Linked DNA regions of Homo sapiens: regions 1, 2, 3, 4, 5 and 7 are each linked to region 6. Evidence: promoter capture Hi-C in 16 types of primary human blood cells and fetal thymus (Javierre and others, 2016). All regions are on one chromosome and are shown on one strand. Each heading gives the region's core, a stretch centred on a gene start or on the middle of the fragment in contact. The rest is flanking DNA. Distances are from core to core; before and after follow the strand shown.

Evidence for each region. Contacts are between HindIII fragments. The CHiCAGO score rates a contact against its expected background, and 5 or more counts as called.
Region 1: a fragment that was not itself captured here is called in contact with the fragment with the promoter of COL4A4 in region 6 in 1 of 17 cell types (M0 macrophages); the score reaches 6.2 in M0 macrophages.
Region 2: a contact is called between a fragment that was not itself captured here and the fragment with the promoter of COL4A4 in region 6, in 4 of 17 cell types (M2 macrophages, M0 macrophages, M1 macrophages and 1 more). The highest score is 9.5, in M2 macrophages.
Region 3: a contact is called between a fragment that was not itself captured here and the fragment with the promoter of COL4A4 in region 6, in 3 of 17 cell types (M0 macrophages, M2 macrophages and M1 macrophages). The highest score is 11.3, in M0 macrophages.
Region 4: a fragment that was not itself captured here is called in contact with the fragment with the promoter of COL4A4 in region 6 in 4 of 17 cell types (M0 macrophages, monocytes, M2 macrophages and 1 more); the score reaches 7.5 in M0 macrophages.
Region 5: a fragment that was not itself captured here is called in contact with the fragment with the promoter of COL4A4 in region 6 in 3 of 17 cell types (M2 macrophages, M1 macrophages and M0 macrophages); the score reaches 11.2 in M2 macrophages.
Region 7: a fragment that was not itself captured here is called in contact with the fragment with the promoter of COL4A4 in region 6 in 2 of 17 cell types (M2 macrophages and M0 macrophages); the score reaches 6.8 in M2 macrophages.

Annotation. Positions count from the first base shown.
Region 1 is chr2:225,478,805-225,482,699 of GRCh38, forward strand. All of the region lies in intron 3 of NYAP2 (neuronal tyrosine-phosphorylated phosphoinositide-3-kinase adaptor 2), which reads left to right. Among named protein-coding and RNA genes, the nearest start is that of NYAP2, 81 kb to the left of the region's middle. The HindIII fragment of the contact is 2,980 bases long and covers 389-3,368 here.
Region 2 is chr2:225,630,523-225,634,232 of GRCh38, forward strand. The region is part of intron 6 of NYAP2 (neuronal tyrosine-phosphorylated phosphoinositide-3-kinase adaptor 2); the gene reads left to right. Among named protein-coding and RNA genes, the nearest start is that of NYAP2, 230 kb to the left of the region's middle. The HindIII fragment of the contact is 8,057 bases long and covers 1-3,710 here.
Region 3 is chr2:225,650,276-225,653,998 of GRCh38, forward strand. It overlaps NYAP2 (neuronal tyrosine-phosphorylated phosphoinositide-3-kinase adaptor 2), which reads left to right. Exons shown (of 8, transcript NM_001371273.1): 7 at 1,157-1,260. Among named protein-coding and RNA genes, the nearest start is that of NYAP2, 250 kb to the left of the region's middle. The HindIII fragment of the contact is 2,269 bases long and covers 608-2,876 here.
Region 4 is chr2:225,593,293-225,597,010 of GRCh38, forward strand. All of the region lies in intron 5 of NYAP2 (neuronal tyrosine-phosphorylated phosphoinositide-3-kinase adaptor 2), which reads left to right. Among named protein-coding and RNA genes, the nearest start is that of NYAP2, 200 kb to the left of the region's middle. The HindIII fragment of the contact is 873 bases long and covers 1,394-2,266 here.
Region 5 is chr2:225,666,719-225,670,391 of GRCh38, forward strand. All of the region lies in intron 7 of NYAP2 (neuronal tyrosine-phosphorylated phosphoinositide-3-kinase adaptor 2), which reads left to right. Among named protein-coding and RNA genes, the nearest start is that of NYAP2, 270 kb to the left of the region's middle. RefSeq lists a silencer at 1,985-2,034. The HindIII fragment of the contact is 4,763 bases long and covers 1-3,673 here.
Region 6 is chr2:227,162,572-227,166,423 of GRCh38, forward strand. COL4A4 (collagen type IV alpha 4 chain) reads right to left here and starts at 1,634. Exons shown (of 48, transcript NM_000092.5): 1 at 1,436-1,634. It overlaps COL4A3 (collagen type IV alpha 3 chain), which reads left to right and starts at 2,053. Exons shown (of 52, transcript NM_000091.5): 1 at 2,053-2,242. The coding sequence starts at 2,156. RefSeq lists enhancers at 961-1,862, 1,137-1,236 and silencers at 1,507-1,886, 2,107-2,286. The HindIII fragment of the contact is 7,891 bases long and covers 1-3,852 here.
Region 7 is chr2:225,275,629-225,279,782 of GRCh38, forward strand. No RefSeq gene overlaps it. Among named protein-coding and RNA genes, the nearest start is that of NYAP2, 120 kb to the right of the region's middle. The HindIII fragment of the contact is 1,264 bases long and covers 1,837-3,100 here.

The DNA.
Region 1 (3,895 bases), core at 629-3,128, 1.7 Mb before region 6:
TAAAAAGTATTTTTCAAACAACATTACAGGAAATTTCAAAATATCTCTTGTATCACCTATTAGTATAGGAGCATGATCTGAATATTGTGCAAGGATTGGAAGATGACTCTTCATGGACCAAACACAAAAGTCAAAAGCTTTGACCTGTGAATTTAAGATGCTGCTAGAGAATCCAATCATTGGGAAAAAAAATAAGAGATTCAGCATTATGGTGTTAATATGTTTTAAAATTGTACTAGCAGATGTGATTGAATATTGAGGGAGAAAAATATGTTCATATGTGACTTGGGAACAGTCAACGAGTGGGAGCCAATGGAAAAAACAATAGGAAAAGATTGAAAAAGGAACAGGAGATATTTGAAGAAAGAGTAAGAATTACAGCAACATAAGCTTCTCTCTACTCTTCAGCCAGAAGAAAAATCTGGTTATAAATCCACTGCCACCAAATCCATCCCTTTGAATTTGGTATAATTTGCATGAGAAATTCTTATTCTTATAAAATCAGGTTAGTGACTCTTAATTTAAAATATAAGTTGTCCTAAATTAACACTGTACCTCAGTGAATTAGATTATGCCAACACGATCTACTTATTAAGTGAATCTCAGCAAGAATATTTAATGAAAAAGGTCTAGATGATTTGAACCATCCTAAGTGATCCATTGAAATAGTTAAAAGGCACTGTTTCTATATGCAGACCAAAAGTCCTTTAATAAAAGAGTATGACATGCCAAAAGTTCAGCATTGCATGGTACCTGTGGTCCAGCCAAAATAATAACTTCTAATAGCATTTTTGAATCGGTTCCAATGCATTGTGAAAATGCTTAGAATTCCAAAGTACCATAGTTTTTTTTTTTAAATCCACCAGTAATTACCAAAGATATTTGCATTTGCAGTCACCTTGTATATTTTGTGCTATGATTAGCTTTTTCTTAAGGACAAACTTCAGACGATTCAGAGGTTAAATTTAGCTAAATTGTTAGGATAGGAAAAACATCTAAATTTTTTTCTACATGTAATTTCATCAAATTTGTACCAATGTGATTCCCTTTCCCCAGTCCTATTTTCTTCAAAGCATCTTTCTTAATGCAAAATAGTATTGCACCTCCATATTCCTCTCTTCAATTTTCAAACAATCCCAAAGGTGAATATATATTAAGAAATTCTTCTACTTCTTTTACTTGTCTACTGACGTCACTGGACTTTACCAGCCAAGTAACTTTGGTAAAAGTTAAGTCAATCAAAGTATGTATTACTTTCTAAGGAAATCCAAACTTCTGTAAATCTGTGAATTCCTAATGTAGACAATTGTTTCTGGCAGCCTGAGACATTTTTAATTTTTAGAAAATAATTTTTAGAAGGTATTTCATGTTAAGACTAAAAATTCAATAGATATTATTGAATGTCTACTACATGTGGGTATCATGACAGGTGTTATTGGGAAGAGTGGGTGTGGTAAAATTCTAGAAAGAAAAAAATGATCTCCTCCATCTAAGATTTATATATGTATACTAGGGGAAGATAGATATGTAAATGAAAGTCTGATACAAACCAAAATGTACTGTTAAAAATTGGAAGCATAATGGAGATATGAAGGAGAGAAAGATGAAAACCAAGTGGGTGAGTTTAAGCTATATTTCTTAACTAAAAGGGCATTTGAGCTAGCACTTGAAGGAATGTAGATAAGTGAACTTCATTCAAAATGGACATGCCGAGGAAGGAAAATAGCATAAAGGAATATTGAGGCACAAAAATGCAGGCTTCATAGAAAGGCGAGTATTTGCGTGATTGGGACATAGGATATATTGTGAAGCTGTGCAAAAGTGGTTGAGGGTATAGCAAGAAGGATCTTAAAGGGAAAAATAAAATAAATGGTCAAATAGATTCCATTGAAGATATTTAAGCAGGAGAATTACATATAGGAGCTGTGTTTGAGAAGATGACTTAAAACTTGTATACTATGATCTGAACAATGAGGAGACAATTTGGTTTTCTTTCTTATATAAATGGTTTTTACATTAAAACTAGTTGTTTTAAAAAATAGTTGCTATACTTTAGTCCAACAACATGATCCATGTATCCAGATATTTTCAGAATTAACTATCTTAAATTGAGAGTAAACACCCCTTCTGCTAATTTACAATGTCTTTGATGTAATGACTCCCTAACAATTCAACAAGAGTCTCAAGAACATAACTTTATATTTTCCTTCCCGTTTCTGCCTTAAGTTGACATCTCTTTGAAATTTCAGAATCATTCTTAATGTGTTCCATGAAATCAAAGGGAAAACTCAGAGAAATGTAGGATGATGACTATTGATCTCTACTGTTTCTTTCTTTAAAAAACCTTTTCCTCAGAAATATTTGTCAATTAAAAGTGTCATCCTGTATATAATTCATCATCTCTCAAGAAGCAGTCAGGTTATCCATGTACTTTTTATAACTCTACTTTTATCAGTGTTTACATCCATGGTCAAATTCTCTTCACTAAATGGTCAAATTATAATAATAATTATTTATTTTCTCTATTAGTTATTGTCAAAATCTAATGACTGTTGTATTTGTTAGAAAATGCTCTAGGATAATAATACTCTCTAAAGTCCAGTGAATCAACACATTTTGTTACCTTTACATTTTTGTTCTCAACTTCAACATTAAGTTTGAACATAAAACATATTTACTTATTCACTTTTTGACCTGCTAATAAAGAATTTAATTGATCATGAACAACCACATGGAGAACAAACTTATGGGACCGGTTACTAATTTATTAATTTTTCAAACTCAGGTTTTTTATTTAAATTAATAATGTTTACCTGTGAGCTACTTCTCTCTTGCAAACAATAATATGAAGTAGTATTTCTTGAAGTTTGAAAAATCACTGAATATTTTATATATTGAAAGCCACAAATGCAAAATAGATGAAGTTTGTGACATTCTGGGTCAGGGTGGGCCTTTGGGAGGCAAGGTTCCACCCCCTTAGGCATCCATTTATCATTTATTCAATAAATATTTTTGATTCCTAGTTTGGTCCAACATTGTGCTAAGTGCTGGAAATAAGAATGAGGAGGCAAACCCAAGGCCCCTGCAGTTTGTGATTTAGTTGAGAGAGAGACATCAATAACAACAACAATTTCAACAACAAACACACACACACATACACAAATAAACATGCAATGGCAACTGTGATGATTAACAAAAAGCAATGTGACATACACTTATAGCATACTGTAATGAGAGTAGAATTAAATGAAGCCACAGTATACAAAAATATCTTATTTTTACATATAATGCATAGTAATAATTCCTATTCCATTATATTCTATTCCTTTAACATAAAATTCTACAGTGACTTGATTTAAAACCCTTTAAGCTTCACTACCTGCGATTTTACAGAAAGCTCCATTAAAGTTTTTTCATTATAAAAACATCTTCCTATCTGATTTTGCACATAAAAATGTGGGGCCATTTTGTTGGGCTGCCCTCACCTCCTTTATTCATGTGTGTGAGATGAGTGGTCTGAGAACAAAAAGGATTGGTAATAGAATGGTGCCTGTTAGAGTAGTGTACAGTGTGGCTGCTTGCAGGTTCCTCTGCAGTGTTTCCCTTAGTCTTAGCCTTTGTTGCCACTGTTTCATCAAAAATAATATATTCAATATTTCTTTTCTGCTTCACTATGCCAGCAATGTTTAAAGGAATACTAAAAGGAAAGTACTGCTACTAATGATGGGTCACTTCAATAGAAAGAGAGTGTGGGGTTTCCCGAAGGCTTCTGAAATGCATCTGTTTACCCCTTTCTCATTCTCTCCTTACTCAAATGCAGCAGAAAAATCAAACCTTCCAAAATGTTACTTGATGTTCTTGCTGCTCCACCACCACAGAGCCTATTTTCCTCACT
Region 2 (3,710 bases), core at 388-2,887, 1.5 Mb before region 6:
GAAGGAAAATGGGATTTCCATGGGCTTGTAGAGAACCCTTTTTCCCCTAAAGCAAGGGTCCTTTGCCTTCCATCTGGAAATGAAATCAAAAGCCTATTAGCAGGGATAAAAGGGGAATGATGTTGCATAAGCAGTAGATGGTGTCTGCCATGTAATTAGGTTTTTAAGTTTATGTGGTGGATATTTGGATATTTTTGTAGTTATTTACTATTTTTTAAGGATAGGGATAATGTAATTCAGTTTACATCATGGAACACCCAATGATGACTCTGTGGCTTTAAACTTGGGTGACTGGGAAGTCATTTACTGAGATAGAGACTGTCAATGTGAGATGCGGAGCAAGATTTACGAGGGAAAGTCAGGACTTACAGTTTGCTTATGTTAAGTTAGAAATGCTCTGGGACATCAAATTGAGAAACCAGTAGATTGTTCAGATTATAGATCTGTAGCTAAAGAGATTTAGTGGATTCAAAACTGAGACTAGACTCCTTTGGCGTGGTTAGAACAGTAAGACTGGATGAGTCTAAACTAGGAGAGCAGGAAATTCAGATGACACCCTGGGGAAATCCACACATTTCAAAGTGTGGGTAAATACATAGAAATGAAACAGTTAGATAGTCCATAATTAAACTTTTTTGAACACTTAGTAAGTTACATATAGTTTGATAAACATGTACCGTACAGTGTCTTTACACTTTGATATGAATATTCTAATAAATTCAGAGTGTAAACAGAATTTATACCATACTTTCACTTTCTTCCATATCAAAACCCCAAAGCATCTCTTTTGGTTTACAGCATGTAAAATCTGCCCTCCTGAGGTTTTTAGTGTTGTTTGTAGAGCAGGAAATTGTCTACTGACCAGAAGAAATGACATACATATTTTTAGTATGTATTCTTTATCTTAGATTATGAAGGAGGTAGGCAAAGATGGAAGAAGACATAAATTCTGTTAAGTTTTAAATAATGAGATGGTTGTATTCATATTAGAAGAAATGCAAAACAGAGGGGCAAGTGTAGAGTTACATATATAATGTCAGTGCAAGCCAGTTGCTTATGTGAAAGCGAAACTCAAATTAATGTTACCATTACTTGAACCTCTAGTCTACCCTTCTACTACTTTTCAGGAAAGAAAAGGAGAAAGGGAAAAATGTTGTGTTGTTAGCTTTTATTTTTCTGAAGAGAAAGAACCTAAATGGTGCCAGTTCTGAACTAGAAAATGCCAAAAATGGCAAAAATGTATAGAGTATCTGAAGTTCACACTCACCTTTGGTAGTGTTTTGCTTTGTTTTGTTTTGTTTTGTTCTGTTTTTGAGATGGAGTCTCACCCTGTCACCCAGGCTGGAGTACAATGGCATGATCTCAGCTCACTGAAACCTCCGCCTCCTGGGTTCAAGAGATTCTCCTCCCTCAGCCTCCCGAGTAGCTAGGATTACAGGTGCCCACCACCATGCCTGGCTAATTTTGGCATTTTTAGTAGAGACGGGGTTTCATCGCATTGATCAGGCTAGTCTCAAACTCCTGACCTCAGGTGATCCACCTGCCTAAGCGGCCTCCTGAAGTGCTGGGATTGCCCGGCCACCTTTGGTGTTTTAAGCAAACCATGCACTACTTGAATATTCATCAATGAGATGGTCTCTGTCCAAAATAAGCAAGTAGGTACATCAAGAGGGAGTTTTAGACTTTCTGTTTTGGAACAGAAGACAATGAGTCAGTATTAACTGTTTCTCCTCCTTCTCTTTATACTTCCTCATCATTGTTGCCTCCTTGCCCCTGGGTACTCAACTTCCTACCTCACACTAGAGAGGAAAGAAGATTCTACTTATAAACCCCTCCTTCCTCTGTCAACTTTCTGCTTCTGCGTCTATTTCTCTCTGTCCCCCCTCCACACTGATATACATACAAACTTCTACCAGTCACAGGCTATTGCTTTACCAAAAGTAGTTTAGCCACTTGAAATGGTTGTTCTTAACAGCTCTTTTGAGGAATGAAGGAATTGCTGAAGTAAAGCAAATGTGTCAGGAGATCTCAATTCTAATTAACATTAACACTGGTTGCTGGGGTACTTCGTTAAAGTCACTGTTGTTTAGTAAATCACAGATTCCCCACAGGGTGATTCTTGAAGGCAGTGGAGAACTGGGACCCAAATGCTCATGAACATAATAGGAAAGCGTGAGGAGATTATACAAGTAAATATGGTATTGACAAAAACTCAGATTTCAACCACTGAACCCATTAACAAATAGTTTCCACACAGCTTGTATCCAACTCTGTTATGGTTTCTGGGGACACACACACCTACCCCCCACAGACTGTAAAATACAATCTGTGACCCTCAAAAATTTTACTATGTTTCTTTATGACACAGAACTATTGAACACAAATTAATTAGGTTATAATTAAATGTATTATTTTCATTATTATCTACTGCTTACTATACGTTTAAAATCATTCAGAGAACAATTAATTAGTGTAGGCTTGAAAAATGATGGAGAGATTAATGGAAGACATGGAGTCTCACATCAGGATTATTCTAGATCTTCTTAAAAATCATTATGATTATCAATTGAGTGGAAAGAGAATATTCCACATGGGATGAAAAAGGTGAAGAGACACACCTGCCCTGGCTTGGCCCTGCTGGGCCACCCTGACAGAAGTGTTTTTGGAAGTAAACTCAGCCCTTGGCTTATGAACAAAGTGGTATCATACCCACACATGCACACAGACATATATAGGCAAACAGGGTTTATAGTGTAACATTTAAATCTAAAAAGAATGAAAACACTATAAAGGGAAGGATCAGCTATATTATAAAACCCTTGGTTTCTGCGTGTTCAACTTTCTGTGCTTCTGCTGTTCTGAAAAGGTCTAAGATGAGATGCTAATTGAGATGCCTTCAGGACAGACAGGTATCATTAGCAAGTGAAGCAGGAAAGATGCCTTCCTTCATGTATTTTGCTTATACATGAAACACTTACAAATGTACTTTACTCCCACAAAGGAAAATGTTTTTCCCACTTTTCTTGAAACTTGAAGCCCTTTTGTTCTAAGTTCTATATTCCCACATTTGTTAGAAGCATTGCTAAGGAGAAATATTTCTCCATTACAAGGAAAATCTATTGCAAGCTGATGCACCTCAGGACTCAATGATGGAAATGCAGGTGACCTGGAAAGCATAGGGGCACCCCAAGTGGACAAAAGCTACTCAGTGCCAGCTGATGCTGCCATGAGAAATGCTCACCCAGGGTTCCCAGATTTAACTGCTATTATGTGAAATCTCCCAACTTTTAAATGTAATTCAATTTTTAGAAAACAATTGAGTAGAATAATTCACTTCTTTTAGCTGGGTAAGACCCGAAGACCACACACTTGCATTTTCTGGTTTGTAAAATCAAGCGATGACCATTAGGTGGAAGCATGGATTTGACCCTGTGGCACAGAGAAGCTGCTTTCTACTGGAAGCAGTAGGTCCCAGTAGATACCTTGTCCTCCTGGCTTTTATTTTCCAGAAGCTGCTGTTCCTGGACAAGGAAATGCTAGCAATAGCAACACTGGTAAGAGAGAGACATGCAGCCTTTGATGGCCAGGGAAGGAAGGGGGAATTCCTTAGCACTAAAAGAGAAATAGAGGTTTAGAATTCCATGAATAGTGAGGGCCAGCAGCCTAATCCTTCATAGCACCCTTGCAAAATGGCACGACCTCTAACTGGC
Region 3 (3,723 bases), core at 492-2,991, 1.5 Mb before region 6:
GAAATGGCATGAGGATAGTGCACCTCCCCAGCGTGAGCAACACATTTTCTTTTCTTCCAACGGAATTGGGCACATTCTGGCTCTCTGGCACGCGTGTCAGTTCTCAGTACCGTAGTTATGTCATATTATTTAAAGCCAGTTGTTCGATGAGTTTAATTTTTAGGTCAAGTTTATAAAGAAAGGCTTTTTGAAAAGCACTTGTTTATTTATTAGGCAAAGACTGGATGTGGAGAACCTTAGGTTTCTAATTTGTAAGTTGAGGATATTGATAGCTAACTCCGTAGCTCCAAAGAGAGTTCTTAGGATTAGAGATAATTTAGGTGTAACTCCTCACAGAAGCTGGAATGTACTAGGCACTCAAAAACCAACAGCTTACACTGAAGTTTGTGATAAAGTATAAATGTCCATTTTTCTTTCTATGACTTGTTTTTCCTTTGTCAAATATCTTCAAATATGTCTTTAAATTAATCATCTCTACCTCCCAAATATCCTGTACTTTCTGGATGAAGGGAACTCTTTCAGTCCTCAAACTGTAATCTCTAAAGCATCCTGTCAGTGGCCTAGGCAGCTAATTTGGGCTCCTCAAATTAGAGAAGAGGTAGGAGAAAGCTTTTTAAGTTGGAAAAATAATATTATGAAAGATAGTAAAAGTCTTGGAAGACAGTTATAAAATTTAATGAAAATCAAGATGAGTTGAAGAAATGTTACATTGAAAACATGATGATAGTATTCATGGAAGGAAGGAAAACAGAACATTTGGAGAAGGGATAGAAGACATTTTAGGACACAGAAATCCTACGGATCAAAGCTAAAAGTGAAACATTCAAAATAGTCATGGTACTTGCTTGTTCTCCTAATGGGTTGTTGTTGCTCCAGGGATGACTCCATAGAAACCAACCCTAAGTGAGGTAAAATGTGCAAAGGCACAAGGCCTGTGCTTCTGAGAGTTGTTCCCCAGAAGCCAATCTGGGTATAAAGCTCCTTTTAGAGTCAACTGCCATGAAAGTGTTTTATCACCTGCTACTTATTAGCAAACATCAGGAGCATTTTGTATATTCCAAGAATAAGTAGCGAAACAAACAGAAAGACTGAAAAGCCACTTCATTATTCCAGATGTCAGTCAGCTAATATTGTGTCTTTTTCCGCTTGTTTCCAGAGCCTAAAGTAAGCTGCAAATTAGGCCGGTCTGCGTCGACGTCAGGTGTGCCTCCTCCATCAGTCACTCCCCTCAGGCAAAGCAGTGACCTGCAACAGAGCCAGGTACCATCATCGTTAGCCAATCGTGATTGACTTCCTGTGATACAACTTGCCAAATGCTTCCCACCTCTGTCTGTCCTGTTGCTGTAGACAACTTTCGCATTTGCTTTTATTTTTCTATGTGTGTATGGGTTAGGGGATGCGGGGGATGAGTTCTGGCAGTCTGTGTTTTCATTTGAAAAAGAATATCTTTCTTCCTTGTGATTGGTGGTGAAACTTTCTTTGCTGTTTGTTACCAAATCGTTTTTGTCTCTGGTTTCCATCATTCTGTAATATAAATGTAGTAAACTTGTACTATATGTATTGGCTTAGTGGTTCTTTTTTAAATTCTTTCTCTCTTTCATGTTTTGTGTACTTTTATACTGTCTCTGAAAATTTATCAATATTTGATAAATTTATCTACTTTGTTTTATGTAGATTTCTTTTTAAATGTTTTGTCCAGAACACTCGCACAGATGTTGTCAATGAATTTGTACATATTTCTTAGCTCTTATCCTATTATACTGTAATATTTCTGGTGGTTTTATTTTTATTTAGCTTGGAGCATGACTGTAAGACACTGTTGAATATTGATGTCCTTATAAATATTCATATCCCGATTCATTTGGATTGAGTATGGCAGCTAGTCTTTCTTCTTTCTTAGGCTATTGACTGGCCTAAGACAATTTGACTGGCCAGACAAATTGACTGGCCAGATAATCTAGATATTTAACAAAAACTGCAGATTAATAAGGCAACCTTTAAATGAATGACTTTTCTCTCTTATACCAACAATATCAGAAATGTTCTCAGAAAGGGAATGTAAGTGTTCATGCATGGTAAATGAGATCTCAATTATCACTTGGAGAAAAGAGACAAGAAATAAAGGCATAAACTGAAATATCATTTAATCCTTTACAGCATAATATGTTGCTCTGATGTTCGTTTGGGTACGTGGTTGTGGATGGGGAATTAGTATGGGGAAAAATCACTACACATAAATGTCCTATCTTTAGCTCACCCAATAGGAATTCAATACATTGACTTAATTTGTGAGGCTTAATTGTCGTTACTGTTAAGTATTATAGGTGTTAAGTAGGGTGGTGTCATTCTGGAATGTTTTCTCTCTGCTTCCTAGCTTCAATCTTTGCATTCATGAAACTCTTCTGAAATAGCAACTTATAAAACACTGATGATACCTCCAAGGGAACTGCCCATTACTGATGAGAAAATTACATATTCATCTATTATTTTAAATGTCAGGCTATTTTAAAAACATAACTAAGTAGAATAATTGCGTTTTCTTCTAATGAGAGACATTGTGCCTCTTAGTGTTTTTGTCTGACTTAAATATGCAAAATAGTTGATTTATAAATATATGAGGTATCTGCAAATACAAGAAATGAGAGGCTTCTCTCAAGGGTATCTCAAGTACCATTTAGAATTTCTTGTGTCTTAATTTAAAATTTAAATGCCTTTATATAAATGTTAAATGCCTTTATAACTAAATGTACCAACTCAAACACTTTTTGGATATAAAAGAAGTAGAAACAGTAAGACACTGAATAAAATAAATAAGATAAACTGCCAACTTAGCTAATTAAAGCTATTCCAAAAATATTGTACTTACCAACATTTAAAGCTTAAAAACATTGGGTACTGAAAGAAGAGAAGTTTAGCTAATTGGCAGAGGATTGCACTAATACAATCAAGTTTTCAAGTTTATGACCCTTGCTAGTATATTACCTTCAATATCTCAGAGATGTTTTGTATTATTTGTTTTGTTTTGCTTTTTTCCTAGTTGTCTTTATAGCTGTTTCACCCTAAGCCCCTTCAAACTCTCAATGAAAGCAGGTTCTTGGGATAAACTTCCAGAATAGAGACAAGGTATACCCTTTGTGCCTTTGCATTATCAACTCTTTGTTCACCTGATGGGAAGTTCTTCGTTTTTCAAAATGTAGCAAGGGAGAAAGCCCAGGACGCCTTTATATGCTGTTAGTTTCCTTACCTGCTGATAGAGATTCTGACACACAGTCAAATCATACATGGGCTGTCAGAGCTATAAATTAGAAGGCTGGCCTCTAGGCTTCTCCTCTGTGGCTTATAGCCAGTTGTAATATACATGCATTCCTATACTCTAGAGATGAAGTGGTAAGCATAGCTCATATGAACACTGCTCTGAACTCCTCTGACTTAGCATTCAACTTAAGTCAAGAAATACTTATTGGCTGGGCGTGGTGGCTCACGCCTGTAATCCCAGCACTCTGGGAGGCAGAGGTGGGTGGATCACAAGGTCAGGAGATTGAGACCATCCTGGCTAACACGGTGAGACCCCATCTCTACTAAAAATACAAAAAATTAGCCAGGTGTGGTGGCGGGCGCCTGTAGTCCCAGCTACTTGGGAGGCTGAGGCAGGAGAATGTGGTGAACCTGGGAGGTGGAGCTTGCAGTGAGCTGAGATCGCACCACTGCACTCCAGCCTGGGTG
Region 4 (3,718 bases), core at 580-3,079, 1.6 Mb before region 6:
TCACTTTTCAAATGAAAATATTAGATGCTAAAACTGAGTCCCTTCTGGCTTGGCTTCTTGTGTGGGGCTTCTGCAGATTACTGGCTGATCTGTAAATCTCCAAAGGGAGGACCCCCTTCCTCCTTCTGAGACTTTCCTTCTGATGTTGTTCTCCCTTGCTGAAAGGACTTCGCCAGAAACTTAATGAAAAAAATGTCAGCCTAATCCTTGACTCCCAACTCAGTCTACCAATTTCTCCATGGTGTTTTTCTTATGCTATTGTCTTTGACTACTTTTTTTCAAATTTTTGAATGATGTAAGACTTATTCCAATGCATTGTGAAGATTATTTCTATCTGATTCTCTCTATTGAAACAAAGGACCAGGGAAAACAAGCTACAAACCTTTTCATCATTTTACTTTTTGTAATACTTGATCCAATACAATCTTTCCCCAAGTTGGTACATGATAAGTATTTATTGAACTTGTTGAATTAATAGGCACACTTAAGAAGGCTATTGAACTTTAGGGAAAAAAGCCATATAAGAAATGTTTGACCATTAAGTGAAAAAACAAAAATCAGCTTCTATGTTTGACTTAGAATATTCCACATTAAAATCAATATAGTCATTCAGCAAAAAAGCAGCTATGCTGAATGCTGAATCATTGCTTCTACTCTTAAGTGGCATGTTTGAAAGAATGGCCATTCCATTCCAGGCAGATTTATTGGAGGGAAAGATATAAAGAATATGCCCATCAAGCATTTAAATTTGGACCATTTTGTAAGGTCAAATCATCATCGGTTTCGGTACAAATGAATGAGCTGTGAAAATTGATCTCTTTTCTATGTTTGTAGAAAGAAAGATACCTTTTTCAAAAAAAGAAAATAACATTTTAAAGAAGCAATTTCAATCTGCTTAACTTATGCATTATTGATCAAAAATTGTAAAGACAATAAAAACACATTCAATGGCCGGGTGCGGTGGCTGATGCCTGTAATCCCAGCACTTTGGAAGGCTGAGGAGGGCATATCACTTGAGGTCAGGAGTTTGAGACCAGCCTGGCCAACGTGGTGAAACCCTGTCTCTACTAAAAATACAAAAATTAGTTGGGTGTGGTGGTGGGTGCCTGCAATCCTAGGTACTCAGGAGGCTGAGGCAGGAGAATCACTTAAACCCGGGGGCAGAGGTCACAGTGAGCCGAGATCGTGCCACTGCACTCCAGCCTGGGTGACACAGTGAGACTCTGTCTAAAAAAAAATAATAAAATAAAATAAAAACATTCAAATAGGTCATTTAACATCTTTGTTGGAAAGACATTGCATAAATCCACAAAGCTATCATTATGTGACTCGCGGTCTTGAATATGTGTGTTCCCTGGTGAAAAAATGGATTTTAGTTATAAAATATTTGAAAAGCTTTTCTCAGTTTTTGATAAAATAATTTTTTTTGGAATTCAGTAAATGGATGACAATCCCAAATTTAATTAAATGTCTGTAGTGGTGCATGGTATTTCTTGGTAGAAGCAAACTCATTATTGTTGTTGCTGGTGGGAGCTAGGTTAATTAAAAGTTCCACTCCTAGCAGAATAACCAATCAACTGAAAAATCTGGGCTATTGCTATTTCCAAATGGAAGAAGTAAAAATATTAAGGAATCTAAGAGGGAAGTAAGGAGTATTAGTTACATGGATTGTAAAGCAGCGTGTAAAGCTGTAGCTGGCTAGAAAAGAACCCAGAACAGCTGAACTGAAAGGAAAAAATTCCAATGCAGAAGTCCGTAATATTCTTCTGATAATTGATAATGGAGGAAAAACTTTTCTATACATATTCTACTACTCAACTTTCAGTTATATTCAATAAAATAGAATTTTCCTATGTTTTGCTTTTCTTTTCGTAGATGGAACTGATATAATAAAGATAAGAAAGAATAAGGATGAAAAAACAATAGCTAGAAGCAGTCATAAAATAGAGATTGGGGTATTCATGTGTTGTCCAACGTTAGATCCAACCATAGTGCTATGGGTGGATAATTCTAATGCATCTTTTTGTTCCCATGTCACAACTAAGAAATCTAGATCCCCAAAAACTAGAAGGATGAAAAAGGATTTAGTTGTTAGTAGCCTGCAACAGAATGATCAGAGCTGAAATAAAGTACTGCTCTATTTAAGTTACACATTCTGGACATCCAAATTGTGTCTATATCTACAAACAACTTTCATTCTTTTGACCATTAGTTATTAACCACTTACCAATAATTAATGACAAGAGATATGTGTCAAACAAATGAAAGCTTTTTGTCAATGTTGAAATGGTCAAAGAGAAGTTTTAAACCTAAGAAATTAAAGCAGATTACCTCACAGTTGTTTTTCTTTGGCTAATTGATAATCTCACTTGTAGCCTGCAGAATTCATTTTGGCATCTGAACCAAGCTGTGTGTATGGCTCTTTAATATAAACCATAATCAAATTGCCCACTGATGTTTCATAAAACAGAAGCTTGATTCTATGTCCAGCCATAGTTCTCCATTTAGCTTCCATGGCCAATCCACTTAAGTGAATGTGCTGTACTTGCTGCCTCCATTTCTTCTCCCTCATTCCAGCCTTAATTTCCCACAAACTGGCTTCCTCTTCTACTCACCCCAGAGTTACATGAGGCTTCCTAATTGGGCTCTGGTTCTAGCATTTTTCCTCTCCTGATTCTTTTAAACCTTCATGAAACATCTGATATTGTTGATTATTCTATGTAAATAATTCCATATATTTTTTTGAGAGATGGGCTCTGGCTATGTTGCCCAGGCTAGAGTGCAGTGGTGATTCACAGGCATGTTCATAGTGCACTACAGCCTCCAACTTCTGGCCTCAAGCAATCCTCCTGCATCAGCCTCCCAAGTAGCTGGGGCCACACTCTTGCCTAACATGTTAAGATTTTTCTGTTTATTTCCATGCAATAGGATATCCTCATTAGTAATCATTTTAAAACTGTGTCCCTTCTGCTTCCTTTTTAAGGGAACTCTGCTCCTTCATTTTTATGAAAAAGTTCTTCTGACATATGACTGACAGTGTTGTAAATGTGTGTTTAAATATTTGCCTCCCCCACTAAATTATTAGGACACATACTGAGTCTTTTTTATTGCAGCAAATAGCACATTTTCTGGCATAAAGTGTATGCTCAGCATGTGTTCAACTATTTGAGTGAACAAATATGCATCCGACCTCCCCAATTAAATGGTAAGTTTTTGAGGGCAGGGACAGTTTATATTTTTTGTAAATTTCCATGGTCCCTGTGACTGAATTTTGCATAATCAGTTTATATTTGTAGATTTATTGATTTTTCTAAAGCTAATTTTTTTTAAAAAATAGCACCATCCAATAGAATTGCCATGATTAACCAATATTGATTTTAATCTGAGCTTTGTAGAGAATGCCAAGATCAACAGTAGTTAAGATATTTAGGAACCAAATGTTTCAAGGAATATCAATGGAGAATCCAGGTTTAGATTATTCTTATACATAATACTGAAAAGAGAAGTCAGTCCCATTACTGATTGGGGAAAGCAAGTAACAAGCAGCAAGATAAATGAATATCATGTTGTCGACAGCAAAATTATTAGCTAGATTGCATGGTATTGAATACAGTCCATTTGCAGGTTAATTTTCAGAAGATGAAAAATAAAGTAAGAATAAAAGTGTACCTTCATTTTCATATCTTTGTTTTAAAAAGTCGTCTGTTTAACCAGCTTA
Region 5 (3,673 bases), core at 940-3,439, 1.5 Mb before region 6:
AATGTTTCTTATTTGGACCTTTAAAAAGTACTAGATTCTTAATCTTTTCAGGATTGGGAGGGCCTGAAAGAAAAAGATCTAGCTACCTTAATAGAGATTCTTTACAGATACATATTCCCCCCCCTCCATGCCCCCCCACCCCCCCAACACACACACAGAGGACAGCTTTGCAGGACCATTTCAAAATACAGCAAAGAAACATGTTTTGGGGTAAAATATTTTGACTTTCTTCTTTGTCATGTAATGTTATGCCAGGGTCAGATTGGAAAGTAAGTCACGGTATATAGGGTTAAATAAAACCATTCTGATGAGAATTTATGGTTTGTAGGGCATGACTCTCCAGACCCGTTAGATAGGAATTTGTGCAAGCTAAAAAAATCAGAGCTTAGTCCTCAGACTTCAGAATTTATAAGTTGCCTTCCTGTATTCAGCCAACAAATTCTTGTTGTGTACTGCTAAACACCAGATATTCTGCTAGATGCTTGAGTTTGAAGATGGTTGATATGACAAACTCCTGTGTTCAAAGAAATTTCAGCCTGATAAAGAAGCCAAATACGTGTGTGTGAATATATAAATATAAATATCATATATATTTAATAAGAGTGGGTGGGAGGCCTTTACAGTCAGACATAAGACAGTTTACAAAGGAGTGAGAAGTCTGAAGTCATACAATTTGTCAGAGAAATGCAAGCAGTTTAGCATTATAGGATTAACAAATGTTGAGGTGGGAAAAATTGTAGAAAAATGATTAGGGGATGAAGAGCATGTGGTAATGCTCTGGGAGAATTAGGAACCATAAGCATGATCATTATTACTCCCATTTTGAGGAAGCTGATTCACGTAGAAAGTCAAGTCAACAGAAATTTGCTAAGGAGCTGTCTCCTTTTAATTTAAATTCTGATTCCCTGAGATCATCTCACTTAAGCCTCAGATGACAGGGGGATTGTAGAAGAGAGCCCTTCCCTGAACAATTAGCATTACAAAAGAGGGCATTCTTAACCCAAATGAATCTTCAATGGATAGAATACCTAAGAGCAATCATTTGTTTCATATTTTCCTTTTGAAACTACTTAATAGAGATACCTTAATAGAGATGCTTTACAGATGCACGGTTGGAAGACTAGTATAATGTGTGTGCTTTTAAACACATACAGTTTTTTAAAATAATGTCACTTCATTTCTGAATATTTGAACATGACTATCCTAAGACCGAGTGTATTCTTCTAAACAATCAAACTCAAAAAAGCAGTCAGGTAATTTATAATAATTCACTACTACCTACTATCATCTAATATAAAGGGAATCCTCAAATCTCTACAAGGGCCCCAATATTATACCCCTCCCCAGTCTGGGATCCAATCAAGGATACGACATTACATATAGTTTTCAGTTTCTTTCTTTGTTTCTCCAAATCTCCTGAATCACAAATACTTCCCAACCTCATTAGTCTTTCAAGATAAGTGACATTTTCAGAGTCCAGAACGATTTTGCTTTTTTTCCAGAATGTCCCTTTGTCTGATTGTTCTCTTGTGATTAGATTTGAGTTCACCATGCTTAGCAAGAAAACTACATGTGATGACCTTCTCCAAGAGTCACACAGCAGATGACATCAGTTGGTTTCATCACTGGGACTGATGTTTGAACACAACATCAATAAGACTCTCTCTAGATTTGTCTACTCTATATACTCTGCGTACCAGGAGACTGAGGCCATGGGGGCTGCCTCAGATTTTCCATTAGAGGATCAGATCAGTGGATTGAGTATATTATGTTTCTTGTATTTTCTCTTAGAAAAAGAAGAAATCTAATTATGTTTTATCGATGTCTAAATATATTTGACCTAATGTTTTCTCATGTGACCATCACAACAGTCCTGCAAATCATAATCATTATCCCATCTCTGATGAGAAAACTGAGAAACAAAAGGCCAAGTGAAATCTCAAGTTCACAGAGTAATGGCAGATCTCGGCCTTGAACCCCTCTCTTCTTACTCTCAATGCACTGTCCTTTCCTGTGTGTGTGTCAGCTGCACTCTCCTGGGTATTATAGAGCAAACACATACTGAAGATTTCCTGTGCAGTTCATCACCACTAGAGGGAGGGAGAGGATCTCCAAAGTTAACATGTCTCCATTCATTTGGGCTAGAAATTACTTGACAAGTCAAACTATTAATGTAAGGTAATTACATACACAGGAATAAATAAAGAAAAAAATTGTGTCCTAATTGGTGTCCCCTGCTTTTTTTTTTTTTTTTTTTTTTTTTTTTTTTGCTGCTAATGGCTTAAAATTGATTGCATATGCATTAACTACAGACGTAATAGAGGATGATTAAGGACAAGTATGAATACCAAAAACTACATAATGAATGTCTGACTCATATTTTATTTACAGTGAGGTTTCAGGCAGGAACATGAAGTTGGCTGTTCTTTTACAATGTATGTTATCTACCTGAGGCATAAAGCATGTGGTACATGAACATACAGAGCAGATGTTAATTATTACTATTTTTCATGACTCTATCTCTTTCTTTTTACAAAAGAGATCAAAAGTCATTATGGCACGTGAATTTGGCTTTTATTACCCTGTATTGTTTTAAAATGAAAGGCCTTAACGTAGGTTTCTGCACATCACGTCTCTACCTACTACAAATAAGACACCATTGTTTAATTCATCCCTTAAAAGCTCATTCGTATGGACAAAAATGGGCAAAGCTAATCTCTATATATTTCAACTGATTATGTGTTACAAAAATAAACCCTAACTAGAGATAAAACTGGCAGCTTACATTTTCAACAACTTATTTTTCTTGATTACAATTTAAAAAATCATTTAGTGAGAAAAAAAAGGAAGAAAGAAACACAGTATTGTAATGTCAACCCTATGAAAACAAATATCCAGAATGTTCTGGGAAGAGCTCAGTTTGTTCTATAATTTGAAAACCACTGGGAACTGCTAAAGTGAATAACAAAAAAATCAAAATTTTATTAATATTTAAAATGCTGAAATGGAGAAAATTCAAAGTAGCATTCAGTTCAGTAGTAGAAAATGTGTAATTGTGTTAGACTTTAAAAAGAGAAAAATAACAATTTTTATTTCCGTTCTGTCCAGCAGTCAGATGATGTGCAAAGGGCAAGAAGGTTAAATAAATAGATACGATCATTCCAAAGACTCAAGTTGTTTGAAAGCAGTGTGAGCACACCTCCTCCAAGGAGAGTCGGGTTGTTATGAAGTACACCCAGGTTGCAGCGATTCACCTTACATGAGGGGAAGATGAAGAGCTCTTCAAATGAAGAAATGTGCTTTGCACATTCTGGCCCACTAAAACACTTTCTGCTCCAAACAGAAGTGGTATTTGCAGGCCCTACTTTGGAAGGTTTTATAGATAGGTCATGATTACTTCCTCTGACCAAATCCATTTTGTACAATCTTGCTATGGTTCTGTATCCTTGGCCTTCACAGTTGGTGTACATAGATGCCAAGGAATAAAAAGGATAACAGCCATCTGGTTCTCATCTCAACCAAAGAGGCAGGTTTAACTAGAGGAAATGGGTGCATGCTCGTGTGTCAAGTTATTTTTATTAGACCTGAAAGCAGAACCCTGGAATGTTGTACGGGGAGAGGTCATGCAATCTTTCCTTTGGAGACCTTTAAAACCACAGTAAATTTCCATATT
Region 6 (3,852 bases), core at 384-2,883:
TCTGCGATATGGTCATAAATTCCGCAGTGTTCCCAAGTTGTAATGAAGAGTTTAATATATGTGCTTTTTATTATTCTACTAAGAATATATCCTAATTCAACATGTGCGTGAAATTTTCACATGTTCGTGAAAACAGGAGCTCTCATACTTGATTGTGCATGGGAATGTACAGGAAATTTTAAAACAGCTAGAGAGTCTGATAAAATTGGCTTGGAATGGTCTGGGTAGCAACATTGTTTTATCCTCCCAAAGATTCTAATGCACAACGATAGTTGAGAATCACTGGCATAAAAGACAGAAAGAAGACTGTAAGATTCATGCTATAGTCAAAATAAAAAGAATGGGAGGAGTGTCTTCATTCACTGTTAGGGTTTTGCCTACCTGCATGGCTACAAAGTTCTAAGATACCAATAGATCCCAAATTTAACTGCAAGCAAGTGGTTCCCTAAAATCAGTGACCAACTGCATGATCATACTTGGTGTCTGAAGCCAATTGCAGCAAATATCAGCAACACTGTTCCAAAGCAAAGATTCTTAACCTGAGGATGGAATTCAGGTGATCTGTATAGGAAACTCACATAGGAAAATAAGTTGCATCTTTACTTTTAGTAACATGTCACAGAAGTTCAACATGTCCTTCCCTTATGAGCACAGGCAACAGAGCACAGTAGTATTGGCAGTTCTTGATAATTTGCACCCACCGGTATTTTCATGTCACATTTCAGTTTGGGCTATTATCTCAAAATACCATTTGCAGACATCACTACTTTGACATTACTGTTGCTTAATCGGCCTGCTGTTAAATCAAGCTATTTAATGCAATAATGATGATGCACCTGTGTTAGTTACTATATCACGACTTGAGGACTTCCATAATTGCATTCCAATAAAACTGATTCTGATTTAATTGTATTTTATGCATTTCACAACATTCTTCTGAGAAACAGTCTAATTGCTTTACCAGAGCCAGTGTGGTCCGTAGCACAGGAAACGGCGAGAGCCGGCTGGAGGACCGTGCCCTGGCACATTTGCATCGCAGGCCACCCCCAGGAAGAGCGCACCCTGACCAGAGCTGAGTCTTGTTTTGCCCTGCATTTCCGCAGATAAGATTTGGCCTGAAAAGCAGTTCAACTCAGCGGAGAATAAGATGGGCTTTCTCTTTCTCCTCAGCTGCCTCTTTCTCTTGGCATTTTGGAGTGCCCCGACTGCCAGGCCGGTAACTCGAGCCTCCAAATTAATCAAAACACACAGCACCCAGTTAAAGCCCAGGCAGACAAGCCCAGGAGCCAGACGCGCTCTCCTCTGGTGACCCCCGGGCCACAACTCCCCAGCTGGGCCCGCCACCACCCCTTGAATGCCACGCTCCCTCCACTGCCCCTCCCAGGCAGGTGCCGGGGCCCCGGGACAGCGGTTGCCCCACCTATGGGCGCCTTACCTGTGGGGACGCCCGCAGCGCCAGGAGCTGCCGCCTTGCCACCCCACGGGACGCGCACCTCCAGCCCCAATCCACCCGCGCCCCGCTGCCTCTTCGCGGCGCTCTCGCAGCCAAGCCCGGCGGCCGCAAGTTGGAGGCGGGCTGGAGGCGGGGAACGCGGACCGCCGCGGGCGCGGGGAACAAGCGGGGCCTCCCGAGTGCAGACGCCCGGCGCGCCTCCCGCTTAATCTGGGCAGGGCCGCTGGCCACTCCCTCCACCCTGCGCAGCCACCTCCCCACCGCGCAGCCACCTCCCCACCGCACACCCCCAAACGCCCCACCTCCGACCGCACCCCACTTCCCCGCCTGGGCCCCCGGACCTTGGGAGCATCACCTCCTTAACCCCTTACCCTGGATCCGCGCCCACCTGCCCCTCAGGCGCCCAGCCCTTTCTCGCCTCCTGGGCACGATGCCCGGGTAGAAGGGACACTGCCTGGTAAGTTGGGAGGGAGGGGGTATGAGGGCGGGACCTGAGCCACGTCTTCCCTCCCTTGAAGCCACAACCAAAAAGCCTGGGTGGGGAGGGACGAACCGCGCGACCGAGCCCTACAAAACCCGCCCCGGCCGAGTGGCGAGGCGAGCTTTCCAGCCGGGCTCCCAGAGCCGCGCTGCGCAGGAGACGCGGTGGCCTGAGAGCCTGAGGGTCCCCGGACTCGCCCAGGCTCTGAGCGCGCGCCCACCATGAGCGCCCGGACCGCCCCCAGGCCGCAGGTGCTCCTGCTGCCGCTCCTGCTGGTGCTCCTGGCGGCGGCGCCCGCAGCCAGCAAGGTGAGTGGGGGCTGCGCGACCCCCACCCCCGCACTTCCATCCCTCCTCCACGCGTCCGGGGGACGCGCTGGCCCCACCCGCAGCGGCGCGGTAGTGGAGCGGCTGCCGGGCTAGTGGCGAGGCTGAGGGCTTCACGCAGGTCCCGGGACAGGCAGCGAGCGGAAGGGAGCAAGCGGGGATGCCCCGGAACAGGTGGAATGCGCGGGGCTGGGGGAAGAGGCGAGGAGGGGGCTTGTCCAGTGCCTAGGAGTCAGGGATGGCGGGGACAGGCCTCCAGAGGTCAGTAAATTAAAAAATAGACACATAGATAATCGCCAGGGATGATACGTGAGAACACCGGATGTGGAGATGCACGGTGTCACGCTGGTGAATCAAATCAAGCAGCTTGGCCCAGCGCACAGAGGGCTGGCAGGAGACACCTGCAGGGAGTCCCAGCCGCCACTTCCTAGCTGGGACGTCACACTAAACCCTGACCTCTCTGGGGCTCAGTTTCTTCCTTGCAAAACTTGCCCTCCAGTTTTCCTTTGCTATTGTTGGGAAAAGCAAATGCTATCACTGAAAAATTAAGAGCACCTTAGAAATCGAACTCAGGTTAGAATCATTTAAGCAATCTGACACTTTGATTTGATTTTTGACTTGGAATTTGAGTGAAACTGGATTTATTTAAATCCATCCCATATTTCTTATTCTTTGCCATTAAATAGAAATTGATTGTCCTCAAAACGATTGTGCCTCCTAGAGTTGACTCACTTGATTTTACCTTGTGAAAGTAAACTTTAACTTTTCAGATACTTGTTATTTTTACACTTTAAAAAGTTGATTTGGGTGATAACGTGGCATAGGAAATTTCATTTCCAAGGATGAGCAGATGTTTTTACAAATGTTATCATTGAGATTATGATTGGAAATTAACGGTCACATAAATATTTATATATGTTACATGAAAAGAATTTTAGAACCTATGGTCACATATAGGTTCTATATGTTTTTCCTATTTAAATTAAATGAAGACATTGCAGACATTATAGGTGAAACTAAAGCCCTCTCTGACACCCCCCATACCTCTCCCCATTTCCTTGTCTTCCAAGAGGTGTCCACTTTCACCACTTTCATATTTCATGTAGTTTTCCAAACATTGTCCATGAATTTACACACACACATATGAACCCACAAACATATATGTATGTTTTTGTTGGCCTTTTAACATAAATGATACTGTGCTGTATTCCTTTGCAACCTGTAGACCAGTCCATGTCAGTATTTAAGATCCTCCTGTTTTTCTTTTTGCTTTGTTGCACAGTATTTCACAATATGCCAAAGTTAATTGAACCATTTCCCTATCAGTTTACATTTAGATTATTCACTGTTTCACATTCTAAAGGACATTTGTAATCTATGTAATCTGTTTGTGTAGCTGGTTCTAACAAAAATGCACTTTGCATACATTAGGAATTCCCAGACCAGGTATTTAAATGCTACTAGGCATGATAGATAAAACTCAGTGGGGATTATCTACCAGCTTTAACCAGGACAAATAAATCCAAAAAAGCAAAATCCTAAAGGAAATGTGTGTTGTGGGGAAGCCTGGAGAAGAGATCCAGAGCAGGGTT
Region 7 (4,154 bases), core at 1,219-3,718, 1.9 Mb before region 6:
GTCAAGGTCCAGAATCAGGCCAGCAGGAGACATCAACACTTAAGCAAGGGCATGTATCAGAGCCAGGACCTTGAGGGCAGTGCAATATCAGACCAAGAGGAATGGAGACAAATAAGGGAATCTAAGGAAATTTTGTCTATTCCTTCATTAACCCTGCCTCCTCCACATTTACTAGTTTCCTCTAACATAACTAACACTCTGAGAGTTTGCACTTAGGGTTCCTTAGTCTCTGATTTTATACTTAGCATAAAGTATGCCTTGCATCAAAGCACATTTAATTTAATGTAATTTAGTGAATAAATGAATAAAGAAATAATAAAAGTGGACCCAATGAGCAAAAGAGTGTAAACATTTTGGAAAGATAGATTTTGCTAAATTCCCTTTTTACATGGTTTTTATAGATTTGTATTCTCATCAGTAGAGTATAAAAGGATTCCCTGAATAGTGCTTCTATAACATTGAGGATTAGTTTTAAATCTTAGACAATCTGATTAATTAAAAAAATTAGTTATTCCTTTAATGTTCATTTCCTTGAAACCTGTGAGGCAAAATAAATTTACCTTTGACAATGTTTCTTCTTTTATGATTTGTCTCTGCACAACCCACCTTTTTTGTGAATGTCTGTCTTGGGTTCACCCGAAGCTGTTATGAGGCTAGGATATGAAAATAAGCAGTTAATTTGGTTGCTAATCCTGACAAACGCTGGTAGGAGAATGGGGAAATGAAACGAGGACAGAAGAAATCCCCTAAGTGTGCATTTTGAACAGATTGTCAGCACAGACAGGTGAACTTTAATCCCATTACAGAACTGAGAAATTCAGAGTTATCCCATCTGCAGGACTAGAGAGCTGGGCTCATTACTTACTCTTGTTATTCCTTGGCTGGGGGTTGCAAGAAGAGGTGACTTTTACCAGATGAAATGGAGAAAGCCCTTGGGCAAAGAGATGCAGGTGCTGGCCTTTGGAATTGTTCAAATTTCACTGAAATGGTTTTGGCTGAGAGGATAAGGTAAAATGCCGAGGTTTCTCTTACAAGATAATTTAGTTTTTCCCTCATCAATGAGTGAAATCATTTTAACTTCAAGTTTATTTACTGTCATTATTTTTCCTACCAATGAACTTTTTAGTTTCCACCTGGTTATTCCTTTTTTTTAAACATATACATATATATAGATGAGTTCTCACTATGTTGCCTAGGCTGGTTTTGAACTCCTGAGCTCAAGTGATCCTCCTGCCTCGGCCTCCCAAAATGCTAGGATTACAGGTATGAGCCATCAGGCCTGGCCTGTTAATTTCTTTATGAATTTTAATGGAACATTTTGAAATAATGCATTCTTTTTCTCTCATATTTTGTTCATTACATTTAACAACTTCCTTCTTGAAAAGACCTGTTGAATATTTATGTTTTAAGTTAGTTTTTTTAATATTCAGTTTTATAATTTACCTATAATTGATATGGTAGAGGTATGGTTACCTTTTATTTTCAAAATACTCAGACAACTAAGACAAAACATTTTATAATAATATATTTCTTCTATATTGTTTTGAGATAATTTTTAACCTATATATTTTTTAAATGTTTATATAAATGATAGAATGCCTTCTTCCATAATAACTTTTTTTCCAATTGTTTTCTATCATTGCCTACATTTTTCTTCATGCCTCAAGTTCTAGGTAAAATTTAGAATGATTTTGTTAATATAAAGTATCATTGAGATTTTGCTAGACATTGCTCACCCCAATATTAGACTCACACAATAATTTAGCGAGAACTCCCATCTTTTTATTTCTTCTTTTCATCTCCATAGAATCATATCTTTCTTTATGACATCAGTAAAGCTTTTCTTCTGTAGTGTCTTTCTAGGCTTTTTCATATCATATTTTCGTAAATAGAATCTTTTGGGGCTTAAGGCGAGAGGTAAAATATTTTGTGAGATGCCGTGGAAAAAGATAGGGTGAAGGAGAGCCTGGTGTTTCTCTTGGATAATGGTCCATGGTGTTGTGAACAGGAGTGGTGAAAACAGAAATGGAAGGAGCTGTTGCCTTGGGTAATTCTGAGACAAAGACCCACAGCCAGGTATGTTTTTGTTCTAGTGACAGCATGCAACTGAGAGAGAGTGGGGAGGGTCTGTGCATCCCCAATCCTGGCTGACCTCTCTGCAACGCGGGCTCCTGGGAGTTAACATCTAGAAGATCTGTTGCCCTGAGGGACAGAGTCTGTGGCCAGGAAATAAGTCATGATGTGGAGTGGTGCCTTCAAGGGGCTACAAGAGGGGTGGCAGTAGTATTGGATGCAGAAGTTAAGAGAAAGTACTAAAGCAACAAGGTTGGAAGGTTAAGAGCAGTTATTATTAGCTGGGGAGGTTCTGTACTATAACATGAACAATTATTTTTTACTGGGTTTTGGACGAACAGTATTTATCATGTCCTGAAAGGGTGCTTATTCCAAAACAGCTTAGGAACTTTTAATCTAAGGGCAGCTCTCTGGGTAGACATAATAAGATAATGGCCTTCATGCTGACATTTGAGGGGTATTTTAATTTTTTAATTTTTTATTTTTTAGAGATTGGAGTCTCACTGTGCTGCCCAGGCTGGCCTCCAACTCCTGGGTTCAAACAATCCTCCCTCCTGAGCCTCCCAAGTGGCTGAGATTACAGGCATGTGTCATGCACCTGGCTCGAGGGGTATTTTAAAATTTTCTGCCAGTGCCAATAGAAGTTGTCTACTTTCCCCTTCCCTACTCAGGAATTTCCTGTCATTCTACTTATAGAAAAGAAACAGGAGAAGAATAATCACAATCAAGTTAGTAGCATCACAATCAAATAAAAATTAAAGCCAGTTAATAAAAATTAATATAAGCTAATGAATGAATATCTTCCAAAGAGAAGGACATTCAGTGAGATGCTGTACAATGCAGCAAATATTTCTTGCATGCCTGTTGGGTATTAAGCATTCGTCTAGGAATGGTCTGATTTTTTTTAACTCTCTTTCAAAAAAGAAATAAGCATTTTTCCTTTCATCATGGGTCATCACAGGTAATGCAAAATAAATTTCTCTGTACAATATCCCTTAGCAACTCCCTAGCAACATTCAAATGAGCAAGCTTTTACCAACGGGGTTCACAGGACAAAATTTTAAGAAAAAGTAGCCTTTTTTTGCCACTAAATCTTTAATTTTAAATGTTTTACAAGAGAAATAATGTTTCATATGAAGGTTTAAATTATTAATTATCAAGTGCTCCTTTCCATATTAACATCTAGCATAATATTGTGAACAATAAAAGTCTGTTGAATAGAATCTTATTAAATATAGTAAGTCTGGGAAAATCTGGAAGAAACATTACTCTTCTTCTCTTGAGGTTCATGATGTCATTTTCTCTCCTTTTCCTCATAGATGACACTTATCTAATTTCTAATTGTTCCATCTAATTAATTGGAGATTTGACTGCCTGAATAGATTCTTGCCCTCTACCTAGGAAAATTTAATGTTCTTGTTTATAAATCATCTACTACAATAGCTTGGAACTCCATTTACATGGTTTTCTCTCTGTGCTTCAGCTTCAGGCTTTAAAAACTAATGAAATAACTAATTAATTAACTAATCTAATGAAACAAAAACATCCTGAAACTTTTCCTCATTTTCTATGTCACTAATATTAAATGTCCACATTTTAGACTCTGACGATGGCCTCCTCTTCTTCTAAAATTACTAATGCTCATGCTATGGATTGCATGTCTATATCCCTCCACAAATTCATGTTAAAATCCTAACCCTCAATGTGACGATATTAAGAGATGAGGCTTCCTAACTAAGGTGGAGCCCTCATAGATGAGATTTGTGCCCTTATATAAAAGAGACCCCAGAGAGCTCTTTCGTTCTCTTTCCGCCATGCAAAGATACAAAGAGAAGGTGGCAACGCAGAAGAGGGCCCACACCAGAACCTGACCATACTGGCACCCTGATCTTGGACTTTCTAGGTGGCAGAGCCATGAGAAATATATTTCTGTTGTTTATAAGGCCTCCAGTCTTGCACCCTGCACTGACCAAGACAGCTCATATTCTATCTTTTAATCCAGTGGTGTGGCAGTAGACTGGCTCTCTGAAAAAAATAAGGCCCCAGTTTGTGGTGCTTGCTGATTTCCAAGGCACAGATAT